Regions from separate parts of the Homo sapiens genome. Here region 2 is linked to region 1. Evidence: promoter capture Hi-C in 16 types of primary human blood cells and fetal thymus (Javierre and others, 2016). All regions are on one chromosome and are shown on one strand. Each heading gives the region's core, a stretch centred on a gene start or on the middle of the fragment in contact. The rest is flanking DNA. Distances are from core to core; before and after follow the strand shown.

Evidence for each region. The method cuts DNA at HindIII sites, captures the fragments that hold promoters and counts their contacts. A CHiCAGO score of 5 or more calls a contact.
Region 2: a fragment that was not itself captured here is called in contact with the fragment with the promoter of ERGIC2 in region 1 in 3 of 17 cell types (naive CD4 T cells, activated CD4 T cells and non-activated CD4 T cells); the score reaches 5.5 in naive CD4 T cells.

What each region holds. Positions count from the first base shown.
Region 1 is chr12:29,378,316-29,384,947 of GRCh38, forward strand. It overlaps ERGIC2 (ERGIC and golgi 2), which reads right to left and starts at 2,857. Exons shown (of 14, transcript NM_016570.3): 1 at 2,800-2,857. RefSeq lists an enhancer at 2,420-2,589. The HindIII fragment of the contact is 7,270 bases long and covers 1-5,446 here.
Region 2 is chr12:32,744,462-32,751,494 of GRCh38, forward strand. It overlaps YARS2 (tyrosyl-tRNA synthetase 2), which reads right to left. Exons shown (of 5, transcript NM_001040436.3): 3 at 6,258-6,413; 4 at 5,476-5,646; 5 at 2,083-2,902. The coding sequence ends at 2,743. DNM1L (dynamin 1 like) reads left to right here. Exons shown (of 20, transcript NM_012062.5): 20 at 1-1,189. Among named protein-coding and RNA genes, the nearest start is that of YARS2, 7.9 kb to the right of the region's middle. The HindIII fragment of the contact is 2,220 bases long and covers 4,074-6,293 here.

The DNA of each region.
Region 1 (6,632 bases), core at 1,607-4,106:
AGTCTTGCTGACACCTTGATTTCAGACTTCTAGCCTCCAGAACTGTGAGAGAATAAATTTCTTTTGTTTTAAGCCTCCCAGCTTATAGTAAGTTGTTACAGCAGCCCCAGGCAACTAATACAGGCAATATAATTCAGGCCATCGCTGAATATCAGAAATAAAAGGTAAAACTACAACCTATCTGTAATTTTAAATTACTTGATTATATTGCATTAGAATACTTTACAATAAAAAACATTTTATAAGATAGCTTAGCTTTACTTTGCAAATACTAGATAGCAACCCCCCAACCCCCTCAATTGTACTTATTTTTACCTTAAAATTTGGACCTTTTACAACAGAGTTAAATATTATGTTTGTTTACCCCAACATAATTCAAATAAACCTAATGACATTCTAAGTGACAGAAAGGTTTACTTGGAAGCCAAGGAAGACAATATAAATGTGAGTTTATAATCAGAAAACCCTGATTACCTAGGCACTTACTAGTTGTGTGACAAGTGTGGAAAGATACTCAACTTCTTAGAATCCTCTCTCCATAATTTTATTTTAAAAGATGGGCAGCAGGACATAATGGCTACCTCACAGTGTTAAGATAAAAATGAGGCATGTAATATCTATTTCTAATTCTCTGAAAAAAAGCAAAGATTTGTAGGATATTTGAGATTTAGTTGTTAAAGTCTTTGAGGAAAGTGGGAGAGTATGTGAGGTTAGTTGACAATCTCCTGAAGTTAGGATGGCATAAACTGATAAGACTAAAAGTTAAGAGAGACTATAGAGTGATAACAGAATAACCTTAAAAGTGCCTAGTAGCAATGTGAAGCAAGGACAAGTATAATCCTCCTCAAAGAACAACTAGACTATAGTAGCTCTCAATAAAAGTATAGAAAATTAAAGTTAAAAAGTATTAAGGAAAAGGTCAGGGACACATGAAATATATTTACAATAGAATGAATGTTCTCAAAAGCAAAGAGTATGGGGGTTAATAAGGCACTCAGAGGGTAGATCTGAGCCACACTACAACGTGACTATATAGAGCAATAGAAAGGAAGAACTTATGCTTTAGTCATTAAAAGAGGATAATAATTTAAGAAAACAAGCAACTGGATAATGGGAGTTTAAGGACACATTAACCACACCAATCAGAGTGTTTAATCAATCTGGAGTTCAGAAAGATATTATTTTAAACAATATCTTCTTCAGTCTACATTTTGACTAAGTAACAAGGCAACATTTGTAACTACAGATGTTAGAAAATGAAAATAAAAAATAACAAGAGCTAACATGCATTGAGTGTTTACTGTGTGCCAGGTATTGTTCTAAATGCTTTGTATGTTTCAACACATTCAATCCTCACAACCTTCCTATGAGTTAAGTATCATTATTTCATTTGGCCGATGAAGGAACTAAGGCACAGAGAGGTTAAATAATTTGACCACTATGACATTAAGAGGCAGAATTACAATAAATATTGGGAAACTATTAAATAGGATTTTTAGCAGGCACTGACTGCCTAAAAGTAACTTCTGGTAAAGAAAAAAAAAATAGCCATTTCTTTCACTTAAATCATCAATCCCCAAAGAAAGAAAATGTGTGGGTGGTTGTTGTTGTTTCCCTAACTCTCGTTGTTCCAGACTAGGCCTGATTTCCTTTGAGAGATCTTTCAAACTTGATATATTTTTATGATTTGTACCAGGAAGCCATTATAACACGCAACTGTATACTAAAGTTCACCATCATTTAAAAAAAAAAAAAAAATCCTCCTCTCTCTATCCATCCCTGCACCGCCAACCCCCACCCTCCCAAAAAATCAGAATTTTTTTCCTCATGTTTTCCACTAGAACTGGCATAATTACAACAACTTAAAGATATCAACAAACAAATTAGGTAAATAACCATGTCTTTTTTCAGTGAACAAGCCAGGCTCATTCTTTATAATTGCTGTATACTGGAGTCCAATGTATCAGGCTAGGCAATTAACTGAAATACTGAATTACAACTTCAAATGAATAAATCCTGTTTTTAACTGTAACTTTCATTGCTTCTGAAAACCAGTCTGGCAACATTTTAACAGCTATTATGCCACTTTGTCTTTAAGTCTCGGGGGCACTAAAATATAAAAGTTATTTAAACGTGTTTTCTCAAACAATGACCTGTCAACTCTATATACTACAGATAAACAAGGCTATTCTCCACCACGAGTTGACACGTTGCCTTCGGAAGGTTTCCTGCGCCGAGGAAAAGTAGTGACAGTCGAACCTGTCTCTCAGCATCTCGCCCTCCCCCGCCCCCTTCTCATTTTCCGAAGCACTGTGCGAAACTCCTTCCGGGCAAGGCCAAGACTCTTAAAGAGACAGAGGGCAACGTGCTGCCACGAATGTGGCATTTGTCTGAATGGGGGTAGGGAGTCTGACATCCGGGAGGACTGGGACTCGACCGATTGGGATCCTACTCGCCTGCGGACTGGAGAAACCACCTGGGAACCGGGCACTGTGACAAGCAAAGGGTCAGAATCAGGTGCGATCGAGGAAGCACCTGAACTCCTTCGAGTTGCAGGATAGCACACAAGCACCCGGACCTGGCAAAGGGAAGCTCCCAGTAGCATCGTTGCCTAGGGTCCTGCCAGTAACGCCCCCGTGGGAGGTGGAGCGGCTTCTCCGTCCGACCGGCTCTCTAGAGATCAATGAAGACAGGAAGCCAAGCCCATGACAGGCTCCCAGTTCCCTCAATTGCATTTACGCCCTAAACAGCCCTGGAACAACCGAGGGAACAGCACCCAGCGGTGTTTCAGTATTTTACCTTGTGTTATGGTCCCAGCCTACCGCCATGTTTCACAGAAGCCCGGGTCGCCGGGGCTCCCGCGTACCCGGAAATATCGCGAGAACAAAAGCGACTATCACAGCTGAAAACGTCAGAAAAGAGACAATGTACAGATCTCGCGATATTCCCTTTGCTTACGACGTGCTTAGGGAATGAAGAGGCGTGGTTAAGATAAAAGAGGCGTGCCTACAGGGAAATGAGGTTGCAACTTGTTTTAGGTGTAATCGCGCCGCCAGTCCGGTTCTGTTTCTATGGGAAGGGAGGGGTTACTTTCCGACTAACACTGAGACTGCAGAACGAATCTCAGCTCCTCACACCGTATTTCATTACTAATAAGAGCCTTGGGCGCAGAAATTATCCCTAACAACCCTAATGCATATCACCTGTGCAATTGTTTTGTTTCCCTCTTTCAGTTTTTGTGTCGTTTTCCCCTGACAAGAACATTTGAGCTTCCTTTTCCGCCATAGGTAACGCTTTTTATTATTTGATCAGCGTTTTTATTGTCTTCCAGGTTTTAATATCATAAGAAAGCACATATGTCTTCCTCATCTCCCTTCGCCAACACCAACTATGCCTTCAAATATTTGTTAAGAAAGAAAATTAATACCTCATCTTTTTCTACCACTTCATAGAACAGGAGTTAATAGACGGAACTTCGGAAAGAAAAGTTAAATGTGAACTCCTGGAGAGTAAACCCATTCCAGGTTCCTTTTCACCCATCTGTTACCAGATTTTATAATCAAACATTGAGATTTAAATTTTCTGATTCATTGACCTAGAAGTCTAACAACGGCATAATTATGACAACTGCTTATAATTACTGTTTAAAGGCTTTAACTGCTTTTTTAAAAAATCTGCGTATCCTCACAACACTCTTAGAAGATAATACCAGTATTTACCTGTTTTATAAATACGGAATTTGAGTCAAGGGGTAGTGAAGTGATTTACCCAAATTCAGACCGCTGGGAGAGTCAGGGAAATCTTGATCACAATACTAAACTGTGCCTCAAAGGAAAAAAATCACATTGTTTTATGTAGTGAATTAACCTTTACTGAAATACTAAATTTCACTAAATTGAATATCCCCCAAAATAAGGACTGATGAAAAGTTTCCAATGAATCAATTTTATTTTCAGACTTTCAGAGTTAGTCTAATTAAATCAATTTAAAGTTCTCACTTTCTTGACATGCTTAAGAAGTATAGTGTAGTGGGTGAAATCATAGACACTGGAGACAGGACTTCCTGGGTTAGAATTCCAGATCAGCAACTTACTAGCATGTAACCTTGACCACATTATTTCATCTCTTTGTGTCTCCATTTGCTCATCTGTAAAATGGGCATGATAATATCTCAGAGTTGTTACGAGGATTAAGTAAATTAATATACATCTAAAATGCCTTTTTTTAATCTTTGCCGTAAAGGCATCAGCAACTCTTCCTTCTTTGTGAATATGGGCTCTTGCTTGGATGGAGGCTGGCTGTTGTTCACTTAGTTACATCTGATCCCTCATCTCCTGGATAACCTACTTTCAGGGTAACAACTATCCCATGAGAGTTGGATTTCCCAGTGTAGCAAAACTGACTAATTTGATCCTTCTTATTTAGAAAACAACTCACCATTTTCTAATCTACCCAGTGAAGAGGGAACTTAATTTCCCCTGAAGATTGAAACTCTCGGGCTGCAGCTAAAGCCGCATTCTTTTCATTAAAGGCCAGGGTTTGATCTAACAGTAGCACGACATCTCTGCAAGCGAGGTCAAAGGTTTGCCCTAGACCCTGTAGGACATCTATGTACCTATCAGGATCATCTTTAAAAAGAGATAGATACTTAATCTTGTGTTATCAGTGGCGTTATGTCTGAAAAACAATTTGCTTTAAAAAGTCCATTATGTATTACCCGCATAAGATAGGTTTTAGACTGAGATTAATAATTGTTCCATAACAACCTGTATTTAGTAAAGATGATCAAAAGGTGTTTTTGTGCCATTTTTTTCTTTCTCTAGTTCGATTGAATAATTCATGGGCTTTTTTCTAATTCTCCTTAGTCCTTCTAGAACACAGGTCAACAGATGTTTATGACTTCAGTCCCCATGATCTGAGTCAAGGTCCCAGTGGGGATCCATACTGGGGATGGCTTGCTGACCAGTCGGGAATTTGTCCCTTTCTTCGGCTGTCATTCTGTCATTTACTTGACTAAGATACCAGGTATCTCCAAACTCTTGGGCTGCAGCTAAAGCCGCATTCTTTTCATTAAACGCCAGGGTTTGATCTAACAGTAGCATGACATCTCTCCAAGTGAGGTCAAAGGTTTGCCTAGACCCTGTAGGACATCTGTGTACCTATCAGGATCATCTGAAAACTTCCCCAGGTCTGCCTTGATCTGCTTTAAATCAGAGAGGGAGAAGGGGACATGTACCCGGGTTGGGCCAAATACCCCTCCCGCTATAGCTTGAAGGGGACATAACCAATAGCCCGGGGTTTTTTGTGGTCCTTTGGAGATTTCCTTGCTTGTTTCCTTCTGGCCAGGGGAGATTAGAGGAGGATTATCATTAATAGGAAGGGGAGCTATAGGGAGGCTAGGATATGGGGATAAGCTGAGAGATCCTCCTGTGGGATATAAATTGTAAGCTTTGCATAGTTGTGTATTCTCCCTCAATGAAAATAAAGCTTGGACATGAGGTATTTCACTCCATTTGCCTTCCCTCTTACAGAAAAGATCAAGCTGCAGGATAGTATTGTAATTTGTACTTCCCTCAGGTGGCCATTTTTCCCCATCAGAGAGAGAATATTGGGGCCAAGCCGTAGTGCAGAAAAAAATGAGCCGCCTCTTTTTCAGGGTTTGTGGGTCAAATTGGTCCCAATGGCTTAGGATGCATTTCAAGGGTGAGCCTGTTGATGCCTGAGTGTTTCCCATCTGAAAGACAAAACTGCCGCGTTTTGGTTTATTTTGTTTCTCCCCCTGCCCAAGAACCTACAACGGTCCCTGGACCCTGCTGATCAGAATAGTTGCGCTCACCAACACAGCAGCAGAAACAACCCCTGCCCAAGAACCCGCAACAGTCCCTGGACCCTGCTGATCGGAATAGTTGCGCTCACCAACGCAGCAGCAGAAACACTAGTTTTCCTCCCAGACCACATGGAGGACCAAGGAAAGTCAGATTTAGCGGTCCTTACCGACGCATTCTCGAAAACCTGCACCCTTGCCTGTCCTCCTAGGCCACAAGGGGGACCAACTGAGAAAAATCGATTTAGTGGCCCTTACCGACGCATTCTCGAAAAGCTGTTAGAGTCCTAAGCATTCTCCTGTTAGTACTGGGACTTTACCCCTGTCCTATAAAGATGTTATGCCCCAAAAATGAAGTGGAGGGCCATACCCTGAGGGAGGGAAGGGATCTCCAGGTTTGGAAGAGTGACACCTTTTGTCCTCACTTATATGAATAGGAAGGATATAATTTCTGAGGCTCCCCATATCCTAGCTTCAGGAATAGCTTTTGTTAGGCCTGTTAGTCTGAGGAGGGATCCTAAAATTCCAGGTAGTCCCCACTACGATGGGGCTTTGGGCAAAAATTATGTCTTTCTGATTGGTGAGCCCGGGTGCCTAAAGAAGGTAACAGAGTCCTGGAGTTTATACTAGAAATCATTCTTATAGGAGAAACTAGAAAAGCACCAGAGACGGTAGCAATTTTTAGAAGCGGGACTAACCTCAGAGAAGAGAGGCAAGAGGAAGTTTGTCTGACAGGCATTAGGACCCAGGGGGCAAGGGTCAGGATAGATAGGATAGATGGGCGAGTCTCGCTTGGGCGACATGCTTT
Region 2 (7,033 bases), core at 3,934-6,433, 3.4 Mb after region 1:
CCAGCACTTTGGGAGGCCGAGGCAGGTGGATCACCTGAGGTTGGGAGTTGGAGACCAGCTTGACCAACATGGAGAAACCCCGTCTCTACTAAAAATACAAAATTGGCCGGGCGTGGTGGCGCATGCCTGTAATCCCAGCTACTCGGGAGGGTGAGGCAGGAGAATTGCTTGACCCTGGGAGGTGGAGGTTGTGGTGAGCTAAGATCGTGCCATTGCACTCCAGCCTTGGCAACAAGAGCGAAACTCCGTCTCAAAAAAAAAAAATAAAACAACACCCAGATAGATACACATACTCCTTCAGACTTACAGACCTAAGCTGCATTTATGGGGTAGTGATGAGGTTTAGAACATATACATATTTTGTTAAAATTCCCCAGATGATTCTTGGTATGAACGACTATATTATAAATTTTAAGATGTACTTAGAAATCCTTAAGACATCTAGCCCCGTCTCTAATAGACAACACATTTATATTGCAGATATTACTTTTTTTTCAGTTTATGACCAGGTATTTATGAAGGACTATTGGCAGGGAAAATATGAATATGTTAACTTTAGCTTATGGCATCAATTTACTAAGGAACAACAGGCTCACCAACTGATGTCAAACATAAAAACCCCCACATCAGTCTGATACGATATGGTACTACTTTGAATCTGTTACTAGTACCATCTTGACAGAGGATACATGCTCCCAAAACGTTTGTTACCACACTTAAAAATCACTGCCATCATTAAGCATCAGTTTCAAAATTATAGCCATTCATGATTTACTTTTTCCAGATGACTATCATTATTCTAGTCCTTTGAATTTGTAAGGGGAAAAAAAACAAAAACAAAAACTTACGATGCACTTTTCTCCAGCACATCAGATTTCAAATTGAAAATTAAAGACATGCTATGGTAATGCACTTGCTAGTACTACACACTTTGTACAACAAAAAACAGAGGCAAGAAACAACGGAAAGAGAAAAGCCTTCCTTTGTTGGCCCTTAAACTGAGTCAAGATCTGAAATGTAGAGATGATCTCTGACGATACCTGTATGTTCTTATTGTGTAAATAAAATTGCTGGTATGAAATGACACTAAAGTTTGTCAAAAAATGAATTCTTAACTTTTCTCCCAGAGAAAGGGAGACAAAAGGAGCTTTTTAATACCTAATCTACTTTGGAACATAACCGTATAGAGTACGAAAAATTTTACGACTTTTTTCCTACCAGATTCTGACAGTTCACCAAGGTATTATAACATCTCCATTTTTGCGTATGAAGACAGTGACTTGCTCCAAGTAATCCAGGTAGTAAATGGCTAGAATTTGAACACTAAAGCCATGCTCTGCTGCCTGTAAGGTTTTCAAAAGAAATCTGATTAATCATTTCGTATGTGATTCACTTGATCCTCAAGGCAACAGGGATGCCATTGCCTTGATTTTTCAGATATGGAAATAGTTCTGGAGAATTAATTTGCCTCATGTTTGAAGAGCTGAACTCAGTCTTGATTCCAAATCCTTTAAGTTTGACCTGAAAACTTTCCTTACCTGGATACTTTTTGATATTCTCATATGATTGCATATTTGGTATAATTGGCTTTATTTTTGGGGGGTTAACTTTTTAATTTACCTCAAGTTGCAATCTGCTTGGGGGGAAAAGCTGAAACTTAAAACCAATTTAAGTTTCTAAATTTATAAAACATTGCTACCTTAGGAATCCACTGACAACAAGGCTTAATGTGAACAGAATTATACTGGAACACAGGCAAGGAACCAGAAAACTGAATTAGAAACTTTCTGAAAAGTCACGTACTGATTTTTGTACTATTATTTGTAAAGAAACTACTTACTGTAATTTCTCAAAGCAACCATGGCCTCATCTAACTTTTTCTCCTTTTTAAGAACTACATTTGCTCTCTGAACTACAAAAAAATCAAATTTCTATTCAAAGTTTCTAATACTAGTTTTCCCATTTCTAATGTGGACACTAGAGGCCCTGATGATTTTATAAACAACTATATAACATTAGTGACATCGGTGCTCCATACCTGATAGAAAAGCAGCTACAATTCCTTTTTTTTTTTTTTTTTTTTGAGACAGAGTTTCACTCACTACTCATGCTGTCTCCCAGGCTGGAGTGCAGTGGCGTGATCTCAGCTCACTGCAACCTCCATCTCCTGGGTTCAAGTGATTCTCGCAGCTCAGCCTCTTGAGTAGCTGGGGTTACAGGTGCCTGCAACCACATCTGGCTAATTTTTATATTTTCAGTAGAGACGGGGTTTCGCCCTGTTGGCCAGGCTGGTCTCAAACTCCTGGCCTCAAGCGATTTGCCCACCTTGGCCTCCCGAAGTGCTGGGATTACAGGTGTGAGCCACCATGCCCAGCCTCACAATTCCTTACACTACCTCTTTTTCATTGTTCCTCATCACTACAAAAAGGAGAGCAGGAAGGGTAAGATAGGAAAGCAGCATTTCTTTCTCTTCTGAAGTATAATTTTAAAAAGAGATTAACCCTGAAAATCATGGTTTTCTATGGTAATCAAGCTTTGTACATCAGAAAATAAAACATCCCATTATTAAACAAATATTTATTAACCGGCCCATAAAAATAATGAAGTTACTCACACTGAGTCCTAGTCCATTCTGTTTTTCTGATTTGCATAAGCAAAGGTCTAAGTTCTGGAGCCAACCCTTCAGAGGTCTTGAGAATGAATGATGGGTAAGTTTATTTGGACAACCAGAAGGACTTTTCATCACAACTGAAGCCATTTTATAATGTAGAAATTTCTTTTTCCTATTTTAAGTAAGGAAAGTCCATTCTTGAGAATATGTTGTCCAACAATTAAAACACTCTCAGGATTTGTTACTTGTTGGTGATTTATGCTGACTCCGCCTTCTGTTATCATTCGATACCTAAAAAATAGAAACGTTTAGTAAGTAGAGAGATCCAATCACTGTTGATCTGTCCCCCAAAAAAGACTGTTTCACTTAGATTTCAGAGGCTCTCCAATTGAGAAGATTTCATTTGGCACTGGACTGTTACCTTCATGTTTGCTCTATTATTAATAGATTCTGCCTCTCTTTACTGCTCTTTGTTTTTTGTTGTTTGTTTTTGAAACACATTCTTGCTCTGTAGCCCAGGCTGGCATGATCTCAGCTCACTGCAACCTCCGCCTCCTGTGTTCTAAGTGATTCTCCTGCCTCAGCCTCCAGAGTAGCTGCGATTACAGGTGCATGCCACCACACCTGGCTAATTTTGTATTTTTAGTAGAGATGGGTTTCGCCATGTTAGCCAGGCTGGTCTCAAACTCCCAACCTCAAGTGATCCACCTGCCTTGGCCTCCCAAAGTGCTGGGATTACAGGTGTGAACCACTGTGTCTGGCCGGAATTTACGCCTTGCAATCTGCTCTTTTAAAGACTCCGTCTCAAGAAAAAAAAAGAAAGACCTAGGAGAAGTTGTTCTAGGAGCACACTGGGTAGGTGAGGGCTGAACATTTCACTGAAAAAAGAGATACTTAAACTGGGAGTGAAGCTACCTTGACAATCAGGGCAGGAAACATGGGAGCAGCTAGAAAGAGGTGAGATCTGAGAAGACAGGGCTACAGCGTGGCTAGATCTTGGAAGTCCTTAAGAAAGAAAAATGGTGGTTTTCTCTCATCTGAATGTTACCAAATAAAATTAAGAAACCACTACTGGACATGGTTTTAAAGATATTTTTATACCTTTATTTTTGGGTAGAGACGGAGTCTCACTACGTCCTTGCCCACACAGATCTTGAACTCCTGGCCCCAAGCAATCCTCCCGCCCTCAGCCTCCCGAAGTGCTGGGATTACAAATGTGAGCCACCATACCTGGCCATGGACATGGTTTTATAAAACTCATCAGTAAAATATTTTCTACTTAAGGCCAGATTCCTTTCTTTTAGGAAGTATTATTTTACGCTGTCTGCTAGTTTCCAGATCATGTTCTATGTTTAATTTAAATGCACCAAACCTATTTAGCTTATATAATATTAAAAAAAAAAATCAGTATTACTTAGAGCCCTGGCTAAATCAGATGTGGTGTCATTTTTAGTAGTGGTAAAGCTTCCAGTATTAGCGAACACACTATAGTAAAGTTCAGAAGAAAACGAAATCTGCTTCCATAGTGAGGAAAATTATTTGTCTCGCTGACATACTACAGGGAAGTATATGACACCAGCCTCAAATTCACTGTGTGTTAAACCAGCAGATGAGGGAATCACTAAGGTGGAGTGGCAGGTGATGCAAAGGGAGACAATGGGTGCTTTTTCCAGGCAGAATAGTCTAGGACTCTTTAGGACACAGGCAAACAATCCAAGACAGTTGAAAGAGAACAACTATAACAAATGTCATTCATAATCATGGCCATGATATGGCCGATAACCATTTGACTTCTGTGTGAACTCCTGCAAAAGAGGCACCTGGGGGTCTTCTGGCTACCCAACACTTTTCCTTCCACCTCACTGTTCATTTAAAAATGGATAAGCATCAATTATATGCTGAATTATTTTTTGTGAAAAACCTTATTTACTCCTTAATACCTCATAACTGATTAATTAAAATATTCTACTCAATTCCTGAATAGAAAATGCAATTCTCAAGGGGATTATTATATAGTTTACAATAATAGTCTTATGACGTTAGTAGGTTAGTGCAAAAGTACTTGCGGTTTTGGCCATTATATGCTCATTTCATTTTCAGAAATTCAGTTAATACTATAGATAGGTTAGGTAACCTTTCCCATCCCCGAATATAAAAAGGATACAGACTATGAGAGGGGCTGTGTTAATCTGTTACATAGGGCCTCTGTTTCTGCATCCCTCTAAAACTGTGACCATATCCCTAAGCCGTACACTGATGCCAGTGTATTTACTGAACATGTCCCTCAAATGCACTTTTCCAGTGTTGGAGGAAAGACTGACTGGGTTAGATATAATAAGAGACAGTATAGGAGTACTGTACTATTATAGAAAATATAAAGTATTTTCAACAATAAGTACTCTCAGGCTATACTTTATTCTTGGACTAAACTAACTTTTCTAAGGAAGAGATGCCACTAAAGCACTATCAGGAAAACATCCTCTCTGGAAACACATGCTGTGAACTGTAACATTTTATTTATTTTTTGAGACAGAGTCTTGCTCTGTCACCCAGGCTGGAGTGCAGTGGTGGGATCTCCGCTCACTGCAAGCTCTGCCTCCCGGGTTGATGCCATTCTCCTGCCTCAGCCTCCCAAGTAGCTGGGACTACAGGCGCCTGCCACCATGCCCGGCTAATTTGTATTTTTAGTAGAGACAGGGTTTCACCGTGTTAGCCAGGATGGTCTCGATCTCCTGACCTCGTGATCTGCCCGCCTCGGCCTCCCAATGTGCTGTGATTACAGGCATGAGCCACTTCTCCTGGCCTTGTGAACTGTAACATTTAATGGTGAATTAACTGTAAATCTAAAAGTTAAATAATCTTACCCTCGGGGACCATCTGGAATGGCATTTGCTTTGCGGCAAGTATCTAGGACACTTGTTCCAGGATCGAGAAAAAATTCAGAAAATGGAGCTTCTTTAAACAACTCTTTTAACTCCTGATCAGACATGACCTCCAGTGCATCTATGCTACTGTGATAAAGGGCTTGTGTACACCTGAAAAACACATTTTAAGAGCTACATCATATAAATGTTTATTCAAATACATGTTCTAATACCCATTAACCAATTATAGAGTGTCCAAGTTCTAGACTAAAAGTTTTTTTTTGAGATGGAGTCTCGCTCTGTTGCCCCGGCTGGATTGCAATGGCATGATCTCGGCTCACAGCAACCTCTGCCTCCCGGGTTCAGGCGATTCTCCTGCCTCAGCCTCCTGAGTAGCTGGGATTACAGACGTGTGCCACCACGCCCAGCTAAGTTTTGTATTTTTAGTAGAGATGGGGGTTTCACCATGTTGGTCAGGCTGGTCTCGAACTCCTGACCTCGTGATCAGCCCACCTTGGCCTCCCAAAGTGCTGGGATTACAGGCGTGAGCCACCGCGCCCGGCATAGACTAAAAGTTTTTTAAACATCTATCTGGTATAATTCATAAACTTAATTCAAGATAATCCTTCTTTCCAATAAACAGGGGCTATTTTAAATTGCTAAGTCAAATACTGACAGTCCTTGTGATAAATGACAAGATAATCCTAAAACATACTCCTACTTTTCTCATGTCTATCCACTGAATAACTAACTATCAAGTGTTAATCATACTAAACTACTACCTTTTAGCAGAATCCAATCCTTCTCGTCCATGAACAAGCTTTGTTACTTCTGCTGCCAGTCGTTTCTGAGGACCCCGCCTTTCTGGCTCTTTGACATGCAGCTGCATGATATGATCAATCTCTGGAAGGGGCAGGAAAGTGAACAGCTTCAGGTACCTTTGAGACAAAAAATAAAGAGTTACACTTATATAACATACCTAATTTTTATCTCCAGCTCTTCTACCCTTTAAGGTTATCCTGCTTACTTTTAAATATGAAACAAACATACAGAAATGTACTGAACATAGTAGGTCCCATGCACACATCACCCAGATTTAAGGTGTTACTATTTTGGCATCTTTGTTTTCAATTTCTTTTTTTTTTTTTTGAGATGGGGGTCTTGCTGTTGCCCAGGCTGGAGTGCAGTGGCATGATCATGGCTCACTGTAACCTCAACCTCCTGGGCTCAAGCAATTCTACCACCTCTGCCTCCCAAGCAGCCGGGACCACAGGCTTGTGCCACCACGCCTGGCTAATTTTTATATTTTTTTTGTAAAGACGGGGTCTCCTGTGTTGCCCAGGCTGGTCTCAAACTCCTGGGCTCAAGTGATCCTCTTGTCTCAGCCTCCCAAAGTGTTGGGATTATGGGCAGGAGCCACCAAGCCCAGCCTCGTATTTTCTTTTTAAAAGGAACAAAATAGGCATAGATGAAGGCCGCAGTCCAATCACATTCCCTTCCTTGCCCCGAGATAATCATAAATCTAAGTTTATGTGCTGCCATCTTTCCCAAGCATGTT